Regions from separate parts of the Homo sapiens genome. Here region 1 is linked to region 2. The links are contacts of gene promoters, found by promoter capture Hi-C in blood cells and fetal thymus (Javierre and others, 2016). All regions are on one chromosome and are shown on one strand. The core of a region is centred on a gene start or on the middle of the fragment in contact, and the rest is flanking DNA. Distances in the headings are between cores, read along the strand shown.

Region 1 (5,455 bases), core at 2,489-4,988, 230 kb before region 2:
AGCAAGACTTCGTCTCAAAAAAAAAAAAAAAATTACGACAACATCTCACTTGGTTTCCCAGGCTGGTCTCGAACTCCTAGGCTCAAGTGATCCTCCCACCTTGGCCTCCCAAACTGCTGAGATTACAGGCATGAGCCACAGCACCCAGCCTACACTGGTCTTTTAACAATTACTTCTATCTCGTCATGTTGGTGGTTTCAGCAGGACAGCAGTGCCTCCAGGAGGCACTTTGAAGATTTGTGGGCCTCCAACAGTGGTTGGGGAGATGTTGCACATCTTGTCATGCATGGCACTGTCCACATGACTGAAATGTCCAGCCAGATGTTCATGTACATGAATAACTCATTTATCATTGCCTAAGTCTAGAACTCTATTTTACATATAAACACAAAGGGGTTTGGTTGTAGTTTTGCTTGTTAAAAGTTTTAACATCCCTGACATTCTCCAGGCCTGTAAACTGCTGTGTAATCAGAGAGAAGAATGAACTTTATTTTACTTATTTACTTTTATAAATTTTTTTCTTTGGAGATGGGGTATCCCTATGTTGACCAGGCTGGTCTTGAACTCCTGGCCTCAAGTGATCCTCCCATCTTGGCCTCCCAGAGTGCTGTGATTACGGGCATGAGCCACTGTGCCTGGCCAAAGCATGAACTTCACCTTCATTGTTTGGAATTTTGTTGAGTTGTTCATCACTTCTGGAAGTCAGCTGGTGTCACCTGAGATACTGAAAGACACCTAAACTGCACTCCTTGCTACAAGCAGTTACAGCAGGATGGACTCGACCTCTCACTGTACCCTCTCCAGTGATCTTAGAGACCCAAGCATTTACAGAGTGAAACATGCCAGGCACAGTGGCTCACGCCTGTAATCCCAGCACTTTGGGAGGCTGAGGCAGGCAGATCACCTGAGATCAGGAGTTCGAGACCAGTCTGACCAACATGGAGAAACCCCGTCTCTACTAAAAATACAAAATTAGCTGGGTGTGGTGGCGCATGCCTGTAATCCCAGCTACTCGGGAAGCTGAGGCAGGAGAATCGCTTGAACCCAGGAGGCGGGGGTTGCGGTGAGCCAAGATCACGCTATTGCACTCCAGCCTGGGCAACAAGAGTGAAACTCCCTCTCAAAAATAATAATAATAATAATAATAATAATACAGAGTGAAACACATATTATTTCATCATCAGGGATTTCCCTTTCCTTTGTCCTTTATTGTCTAGTTAGACCTTACTGATCTTTAAAAATGTTGTAAGAAAGTCACACCCATAATTTGAGTTCAGGGCAGTAAAAGGAAGCAGTGGATCTGTAAGGCTATTATAAATTAATAGGCGGGGCGCGGTGGCTTACGCCTGTTATCCCAGCATTGTGGGAGGCTGAGGTGAGCAGATCACCTGAGGTCAGGAGTTCGAGACCAGCCTGGCCAACATGGTGAAACCCCGTCTCTACTAAAATTACAAAAATTAGCTGGGCATGGTGGCGGGCATCTGTAATCTCAGCTACTCAGGAGGCTGAGGTAGGAGAATTGCTTGAACCGGGGAGGTGGAGGTTGCAGTGAGCTGAGATCACACCACTGCACTCCAGCCTGGGAGACAGAGTGAGACTCCATCTCAAAAAATAAAATAAAATAAAATAATATAAAATAATAAATTAATAGAGAACTGTAATTTGTTTAGCCAGTCCCCTATGATGAATATTTATACTGTTTCCTAAAATTGCATTTGTACATAACCATTGATTCAAACAAAGCAAGAAAATTTAAAACATGAAGGAGAAAAAATAGTATTTCAGAATTTAAGGTTCTAAAGATAACCAATCTCATTTCCTCTTGCATTTATTTATATTTTATATTAATATATGTGTGTGTATATATATTTATTTATTTATTTATTTATTTATTTTGAGATGGAGTTTCGCTCTTGTTGCCTAGGCTGGAGTGCAATGGCGCGATCTTGGCTCACTGCAACCTCCACCTCCCAGGTTCAAGTGATTCTCCTGCCTCAGCCTCCCGAGTAGCTGGGATTACAGGCATGTGCCACCATGCCCGGCTAATTTTATATTTTTAGTAGATACGGGGTTTCTCCATGTTGGTCAGGCTGGTGGTCTCAAACTCCCAACCTCAGGTGATCCGCCTGCCATGGCCTCCCAAAGTGCTGGGATTACAGGCGTGAAGCACTGCGCCCTGCCGTATTTTTTTTGAGACAGTCTTGCTCTGTTGTCCAGGCTGGAGTGCAGTGGTGCAATCATGGCTCACTGCAGCCATGACCTCCTGGGCTCAACCAATCCTCCTGCCTCAGCTTCCTGAGTAGCTAGGACTACAGGCATAAGCCATCATATCCTCCTCTTTCATTTAAAGTAATCCTGTCATTAAAGCAGATTTACTTTTCACCACTGACATTACTATCCTGGCCCAAGCCCCTTTCCTCACTCCTGGATGATGCAGTAGTCTCCAGATTTCACTCCGCCACATAGTCTATCCTCAACAGACTTCAGTCAAAGTGACCTTTTTAAGAATGGTGGCTTAGGCCGGGCGCGGTGGCTGATGTCTGTAATCCCAGCACTTTGGGAGGCTGAAGTTGGCAGATCACCTGAGGTCAGGAGTTCAAGACCAGCCTGGCCAACATGGCGAAACCCCGTCTCTACTAAAAAATACAAAAAATTAGCCGGGCGTGGTGGTGGGCGCCTGTAATCCCAGCTAGTTGGGAGACTGAGGCAGTAGAATTGCTTGAACCTGGGAGGTGGAAGCTGCAGTGAGCCGAGATCACGCCACTGTACTCCAGAGTGGGTGACACAGCAAGACTCCGTCTCGGGGGGGAAAAAAAAGGTAGCTCTGTTGGGCACAGTGGCTCATACCTGTAATCCCAGCACTTTGGGAGGCCGAGTCAGGTGAATCACCTGAGGTCAGGAGTTCAAGACCAGCTTGGCCAACATGCCAAAACCCTGTCTCCAATAAATATACAAAAATTAGCTGGGTGTGGTGGCGCTCGCCTGTAATCCCAGCTACTCGGGAGGCTAAGGTAGGAGAATCACTTGAACCCGGGAGGTGGAGGCTGCAGTGAGCCGAGATTGCGCCACTACACTCTAGCCTGGATGACAGAGTGAGACTCTGTCTCAAAAAAAAAAAAAAAAAAAAAAAAAGAAGAAGAACGGTGGCTCATGCCTGTAGTCCTAGCACTTTGGGAGACCAAGGCAGGCGGATTGCTTCAGCCCAGGAGTCTGAGACCAGCCTGGGCAACATGGTGAAAGCTTGTCTCTACAAAAAATTTTAAAAGAATTTTTTGGCCAGGAGTGGTGGGTCACACCTGTAATCCCAGCACTTTGGGAGGCTAAGGCAGGCGGATCACTTACGGTCAGGACTTTGAGACCAGCCTGGCCCACATGGTGAAACCCTGCCTCTACTAAAAATACAAAAACTAGTCGGGCGTGGTGGTTCACTCCTATAGTCCCAGCTACTTAGGAGGCTTGAGACACAACAATCGCTTGAACCTGGGAAGCGGAGGTTGCAGTGAGCTGAGATAACACCAGTGCACTCCAGCCTGGACAACCAAGCAAGACTCTGTCTCAAAAAAATTTTTTTTTAATATTAGCCAGGTGTGGTGGGTGGCACATGCCTGTAGTTCCAGCTACCAGGAGGCTGAGATAGGAGAATCGCCTGAGGCCAGGAGGTCGAGGCTGCAGTGAGCTGAGATCAGTTCATTCCAGCCTTGGCAACAGAGCAAGACCCTATCTAAAAAAAAAAAAAAAGTTAGGCAAATGCTGTCACTCCTCTGCTCAAACTTCTATAGATATATGGATCCTATTTGGATGTAAATTCAAATAAGGCAACTGGGAAAACAATTATTTAATATATTGAATAAAAATACATAAGTCCATAGTGACAGGAGGAGGGAGGGATCAGAAGGGTACTTTACAACTGCAAAAGGGAATAATTGATTCAGACAAATATAATTAATGCCAAAACACAACAATCAGGTGAAAAGGCTCTCTTCTTGGAAAGAGGGTCTTTATGCAGAGGCAAAATATCACCCCTCAAGATTACCTAATTTTCAGAAAAGGGAAAAGATACCTTTCCAGTGGAGCAGTCTGGCAGGCATTACCTTAACTGCAAGTTCAAATTTAGCCTCACTGATGAGTCAGCCTGAGACTTTGTGCCTCCTGATGTGAGGCAAGATTAAGTACACAAAGTATCACCTATGAAATCTTCCTGCTAAATATGATGAATTTGAATCCAATTAAGCTTCTAGGCCTAGTGTAATTTCCAATTTACAGAAAATACAGGAGCTAAAAGAGAAAAACAGGAAACAATTAGCTCCAGAATAATGGACATTCCACAAAGTCAATGTCCTGAACTCTTTGTTTTATTTGTTTCTTTATTTTATTTATTTATTTATTTTTGAGATGGAGTTTTACTCTTGTCGCCCAGCCTAAAGTGCAATGGCACGATCTCAGCTCACTGCAACCTCCACCTCCCAGGTTCAAGCAATTCTCCTGTCTCAGCCTCCTGAGTAGCTGGGATTACAGGCATGTGCCACCACGCCCGGCTAATTTTTTATTTTTTAGTAGAGATGGGGTTTCACCATGTTGGCCAGGCTGGTCCTGAACTCCTGACCTCAGATAATTCACCTGCCTCGGCCTGGAATTGCAGGCGTGAGCCACCGCACCCAGCTGTTTTATTTCTTTTGGAGACAAGGTCTGGCTCTATCACCCAGGCTGGAGTGCAGTGGCACAATCACGTCTCACTGCAAACTCCACGTCTCACTGCAAACTCCACCTCTCAGGCTCAAGGGATTCTCCCACCTCAGCCACCTGAGTAGCTGGGACCACAGGCTCGCATCCAGTGTGACCACAGGCTCACACCTGGCTAATTTTTGTATTTTTTGTAAAGATGGGGTTTCACTATGTTGCCCAGGCTGGTCTCCAACTCATGAGCTCAAGCAATCTACCTGCCTTGGCCTCCCAAAGTGCTGGGATTACAGGAGTGAGCCACCGTGCCCAGCTGTCCTGAACTTTTTTTTTTTCTTTGATACACAGTCTCGCTCTGTCTCCAGGCTGGAGTGCAGTGGCATCTGCCTCCCAGGTTCAAGTGATTCCCCTGCCTCAGCCTCTTGAGTAGCTGGGACTACAGGTGCGTGCCACCACCCCCGGCTAATTTTTTGTATTTTAGTAGAGACAGTGTTTCACCATGTTGGCCAGGTTGGTCTCGATCTCCTGACCTTGTGATCCACCTGCCTCAGCCTCCCAAAGTGCTGGGATTACAGGCGTGAGCCACTGCGCCCAGCCTGTCCTGAACTTTTAAAAGAGTCAACATCGGCTGGGCGCAGTGGCTCACGCCTGTAATCCCAGCACTTTGGGAGGCCGAGTTTGGAGGATCACTTGAACTCAAGAGTTCGAGACCGACCTGGACAACATCGTGAAACCCCCTCTCTACTAAAAATACAAAAATTAGCTGGGCGTGGTGGCA
Region 2 (5,186 bases), core at 2,272-4,771:
GTCACCCATGCTAGAGTGCTGTCGTCCCATCACGGCTCACTGTATCCTCAACCTCCTGGGCTCCAGCCATTTCCCTGCCTCAGCCTCCTAAGTAGCGGGAATTACAGGCATGCATCACCATGCCTGTCTAATTTTTACATATTTTGTAAAGATCTTGCCATTTCCTGGGCTCAAGCAGTCCTCCTGTCTTGGCCCCCCAAAGTGCTGGGATTATAGGCAGAGCCACTGTGCGTGGGAAAGCATCAAGCATACATCCTGGCTATCCCGAATGGATTGTATTTCAAAGTAACCAGAGAGATGAGGGAATGCTCACCTTTGTAGAAGAATCTCATCTTATAAATGCAGGAGAAATGAGAGCATTTGAAATTACCACTTTGCACACCTAAGGAACATCATAAAACTACACTAGGGTTTCTCAACCTGGGTACTACTGACATTTTGAGCTGGATAATTCTTCGCTGTGGGGGGGAGGTGTGCTCTGTGAATTATACAATGTTTAGCAGTATTCCTTGCATTCATTTTCTAGATAACAGCAGTACCACCCGCCACCCCCCACCCAGTTGCAACAATCCAAAATATCTCCAGACATTGCCAAATTTCCCCTTGGTAGGACAGGGCAGAATCAACCCTCGTTGAGAACCAATGGTCTAATGATCATCAACGTTTGCTAGACTATTAGAAGAAAGGCTGATGGTAAACTTCATGGATAATCAGGATGACAACCCCCAAATTGAGAGATGAATTACAATATTACTAAGAGACAAACCCGCCTTGTGCCTCAGTAGAAGTACATAGTGCCAGCCACGAAGCGTTATTGCAAACAAAACAAAACAAAAAAACCCAAACCTCAACATTACACCTAAACCTAATGAAGCTTCTAGCCAGGGGCAAATCCAAGCTTTGTGGGGCCTTAAACTATACAAATTTCACAGTCCTCTTTAAGAAAAAGACACAAAATTATAAATGCGAAATTAGGTACGGGGGTCTATGCAAGGGAGGGCCTGAAGATTAAGCTTCATTAGTTTCACTGTAAACCTCCCCTGACTCTAGAATTAACTGTGATTACAGGACATACCAGGGACAAAAAACGTTAAATGACACCTGAAGATACAATCAGCAAAACCCAGAAAGTGGAAAATTCTGTTGGTCAAATGACCCAGTTTCTTCAATAAGTAAATGCCATGAATAACAAACAACAAAAAGAGAGGGGAAATTTATATATATAATATATATATAATATGTATAATATATATATATGTTGTTATATGGTTTGTTTTTTTTTTTTTGGACACGAGTCTCTCTCTCACCCAGGCTGGAGTGCAGTGGCATGATCTCGGCTCACTGCAACCTCTGCCTCCTGGGTTCAAGCGATTCTTCTGCCTCAGTCTCCCAAGTAGCTGGGACTACAGGTGAGCACCACCACACCCAGCTAATTTTTGTATTTTTGGTAGAGGTAGGGTTTCACCATATTGGCCAGGCTGGTCTCGAACTCCTGACCTCGTGATCTGCCCACCTTGGCCTCCCAAAGTGCTGGGATTACAGGTGTGAGCCACTGCGCCCGGCCCTGTTTTTGTTTGTTTTGAGATAGAATCTCACTCTGTTGCCTAGGCTGGAGTACAGTGGCATCATCTCAGCCCACTGCAACCTCCACCTCCCTGATTCTAGCAATTCTCCTGCCTCAGCCTCCCAAGTAGCTGAGATTACAGGTGTGCACCACCACACCTGGCTAATTTTTGTATTTTTAGTAGAAACAGGGTTTCACCATGTTGGCCAGGCTGGTCTCAAACTCCTGACCTCAAGTGATCCTTCCACCTCAGCCTCCCAAAGTGCTGGGATTACAGGCATGAGCCACTGTGCCCAGCCAAAATTGTTATATATTAAGAGACATATATTTGTATGAAATGCAGTAAGTAAACCTTGTTTGGACCCTAAATATCTAATGTACAAAATTTTTTAAGGCAATGGGGAAAATTAAACACATACTAGGTATTAAGTGATGTTAAATAATTTTTAAAATTTTGGTGGGTGTGATAATAGTATAAAGTCCTTATCTGTTAGAGACACACACTGACGTATTTATAGGTGAAATGACATGATGTCCAGGATTTGCTTTAATATACAGCACTTCAAAAAAAAATGCAGAAAGGGATACATGAAATGAGAAAGGCAGCAAACTGTTGTTGAAGTTGGATGATGAGTACAGCCCTCCGTTATTATCCAAGGGGGATAATTCCTGGACCCCTACGGATACCAAAATCCAGGTATGCTCAAGTTCTTTATGAAAGTTCATTGTAATTATTCTATTATATAAAAGTTTCGAAATTCTGTTGATAAAATGTATTTTTAGTAGAGACGGGGGTTTCACCTTGTTGGCCCAACTGGTCTCGAATTTCTAACCTCAGATGATCCACCAGCCTTGGCCGCCCAAAGTGTTAGCATTACAGGCGTGAGCCACCGCGCCCGCCTGGCCTTGATAAAAACAGTTTTAACCTTCCGTTGCTTCGATTCCATGCCCACTAAGTAACATTCCAGTTTGTTTTTCACTTTCAAAAGGATGTGCTGTAACTAGGGGATGTAAACAAGCTCCATGACCCTACTTATTCCAAGTTTTCGTTCCACTCTCCCACCTTTTTTTTAAGACAAGGTATCACCCTCGGTCGCCCAGGCTGGAGCGCGATCACTGCTTAATGCATCCTCGACCTCCTGGGTTCAAGCGATTCTCCTGCCTCAGCCTCCCAAGTAGCTGGGACTACATGCGCACACCACCACACCGGTTAATTTTTTGTAGAGACGGGGGTTTCACCATGTTGCCCAGGCTGGTCCCGAACTCCTGGGCTCAAGGGATCCGCCCGCCTCAGCCTCCCAGAGTGCTGGGATTACAGGTGCCAGCCACCGCGCCCGGCCCCAGCTTCTTAAAAGAATGATCCGAAACTATGGCAGCACTGGGCTTTTGGTCCCCACCCAAGAAATGCCCGCTCGCAGAGGCTCGCCGCGGCAGGCTCTCCCGACGTGACAGAGTGTGGGTCTGGATTCAGCCTCGGTTCTTACGAGTCAGATAGGTGGACACGCAAAGCAAAACATCACAGGGCTTTTTGTATTTAGCACAGAAAACACTTGTGAGCCCGAGCTGAGAACCCAAAAGGCACGCTTCAGGCCATCGTAGCCACCAAGCCTGGTCAGATTCCGTCCACCGTCTCCTTGGTGCTCCGAGACCCAAATCGCTGACTGGGGCCGAGGGCGGGCGTGACTGCGCAGGCGTGCCTCCCCTGCGAGATGCCGGAGGTAAGCTGCGGGGTAAGGGGCGAGAAATTAAGGGCGAACGTCATTGCGCATGCGCCCTCTACTCTCGTTGCGGGGGTAGGCGGGCGCCGGGCTGTGTGAGGGGGCGGGGCGCGGCAGTGTTCGGTACGGATGGAGTTGCAGGAGACGGCGAGTACATATCACTGCGCAGGCGTCCTCTTCCCCTAACTCTCAGGGTCGCTAGGGTGGCGCGCAGGCGCAGAGCGATGCGCAAATGTGCGCAGGCGCTTAGGGGCTGAGGCGCGATGGCAGGTGTCGGGGCTGGGCCTCTGCGGGCGATGGGGCGGCAGGCCCTGCTGCTTCTCGCGCTGTGCGCCACAGGCGCCCAGGGGCTCTACTTCCACATCGGCGAGACCGAGAAGCGCTGTTTCATCGAGGAAATCCCCGACGAGACCATGGTCATCGGTCAGGCGGGCTGAGGGTGGGGAGGCCCTTTGTACCCAGCTCAGCCCTCGGCGGCGCTCCCTCCTCCCGAGCCCAGCCGGGTCGCTGGCTCCCCCAGTACCTAGCCTGAGGGTGCCCCGAGGACGCCAGGCCCCCTGCCTAGAGCTCCGGGCCGCACGTCGGAGGGGGCCGGGCGGAGAGGCGGCCCACTAGGGCCGGTCGTGACTATGTGTCTGCCCCGCAGGCAACTATCGTACCCAGATGTGGGATAAGCAGAAGGAGGTCTTCCTGCCCTCGACCCCTGGCCTGGGCATGCACGTGGAAGTGAAGGACCCCGACGGCAAGGTAAGGCTGGCGTTGGCCCACGCAGCCGTTCTTCAGTGGAGCTCCCGTGGGGTGTAAAGCACTGCCTGGAGGAGGCCTCAAGGGACAGGAACTTGCACTTGGAGAGCCTGCGGTATAAAGGTGGGGCCTTCACTCACATATGTTGCAGGTGGTGCTGTCCCGGCAGTACGGCTCGGAGGGCCGCTTCACGTTCACCTCCCACACGCCCGGTGACCATCAAATCTGTCTGCACTCCAATTCTACCAGGATGGCTCTCTTCGCTGGTGGCAAACTGGTAAGAGGATTTTCTCTTTGGCTTCAGCTTAGAATCTCTCACTTGTTTCCAAATTTTGATTTATCAAGATTGTGAAACTTTGTAGCACAGTCAGAATTGGGGAGACAGATGTTGCCTTCTGCTCCACAGCCAGGGACAATAGTGGGTTCCATACCCTGGAACAGACAACTGGAGGCCCCACCACTCATACATTCCATGTTTCCTTGTAGCGGGTGCATCTCGACATCCAGGTTGGGGAGCATGCCAACAACTACCCTGAGATTGCTGCAAAAGATAAGCTGACGGAGCTACAGCTCCGCGCCCGCCAGTTGCTTGATCAGGTGGAACAGATTCAGAAGGAGCAGGATTACCAAAGGGCAAGTGCATATCTCCTTGTAATTTGAGAGGGCAGTTGACCTTTATACCCACTATACCTACTCAAGTTTCTGCTTGGGAGATCAGCTCTGCAGAGAATGGAATGAGAAGTATTGGTTTAGATAGGTTGTTTGTTTGTTGTTTTTGAGACGGAGTTTCACTCTTGTTGCCCATGCTGGAGTGCAATGCCATGATCTTGGCTCACTGCAACCTCCGCCTCCCCAGGTTCAAGCGATTCTCCTGCCTCAGCCTCCTGAGTAGCTGGGATTACAGGCATGCGCCACCATGCCTGGCTAATTTTGTACTTTTAGTAGAGACGGGGGTTTCTCCACGTTGGTCAGGCTGGTCTCGAACTCCCGACATCAAGTGATCCGCCCGCCTCAGCCTCCCAAAGTGCTGGGATTACAGGTGTGAGCTACCGCGCCCTGCCTGTTTTGCTTTTTTATCAAAACATTTTATTGTGGTAAAATATAACACCAAATGTGTCATTTTAACTGTCTATATAGTTCAGTGGTATTAAGTGCCTTCA

What was found. The method cuts DNA at HindIII sites, captures the fragments that hold promoters and counts their contacts. A CHiCAGO score of 5 or more calls a contact.
Region 1: a contact is called between a fragment that was not itself captured here and the fragment with the promoter of TMED4 in region 2, in 10 of 17 cell types (naive B cells, endothelial precursors, erythroblasts and 7 more). The highest score is 6.8, in naive B cells.

What each region holds. Positions count from the first base shown.
Region 1 is chr7:44,809,922-44,815,376 of GRCh38, reverse strand. No RefSeq gene overlaps it. Among named protein-coding and RNA genes, the nearest start is that of PPIA, 16 kb to the right of the region's middle. The HindIII fragment of the contact is 991 bases long and covers 3,243-4,233 here.
Region 2 is chr7:44,580,566-44,585,751 of GRCh38, reverse strand. It overlaps TMED4 (transmembrane p24 trafficking protein 4), which reads left to right and starts at 3,521. Exons shown (of 5, transcript NM_182547.4): 1 at 3,521-3,705; 2 at 3,929-4,029; 3 at 4,178-4,303; 4 at 4,513-4,659. The coding sequence starts at 3,546. RefSeq lists an enhancer at 3,038-3,147 and silencers at 3,238-3,397, 3,798-3,897. The HindIII fragment of the contact is 9,471 bases long and covers 1,016-5,186 here.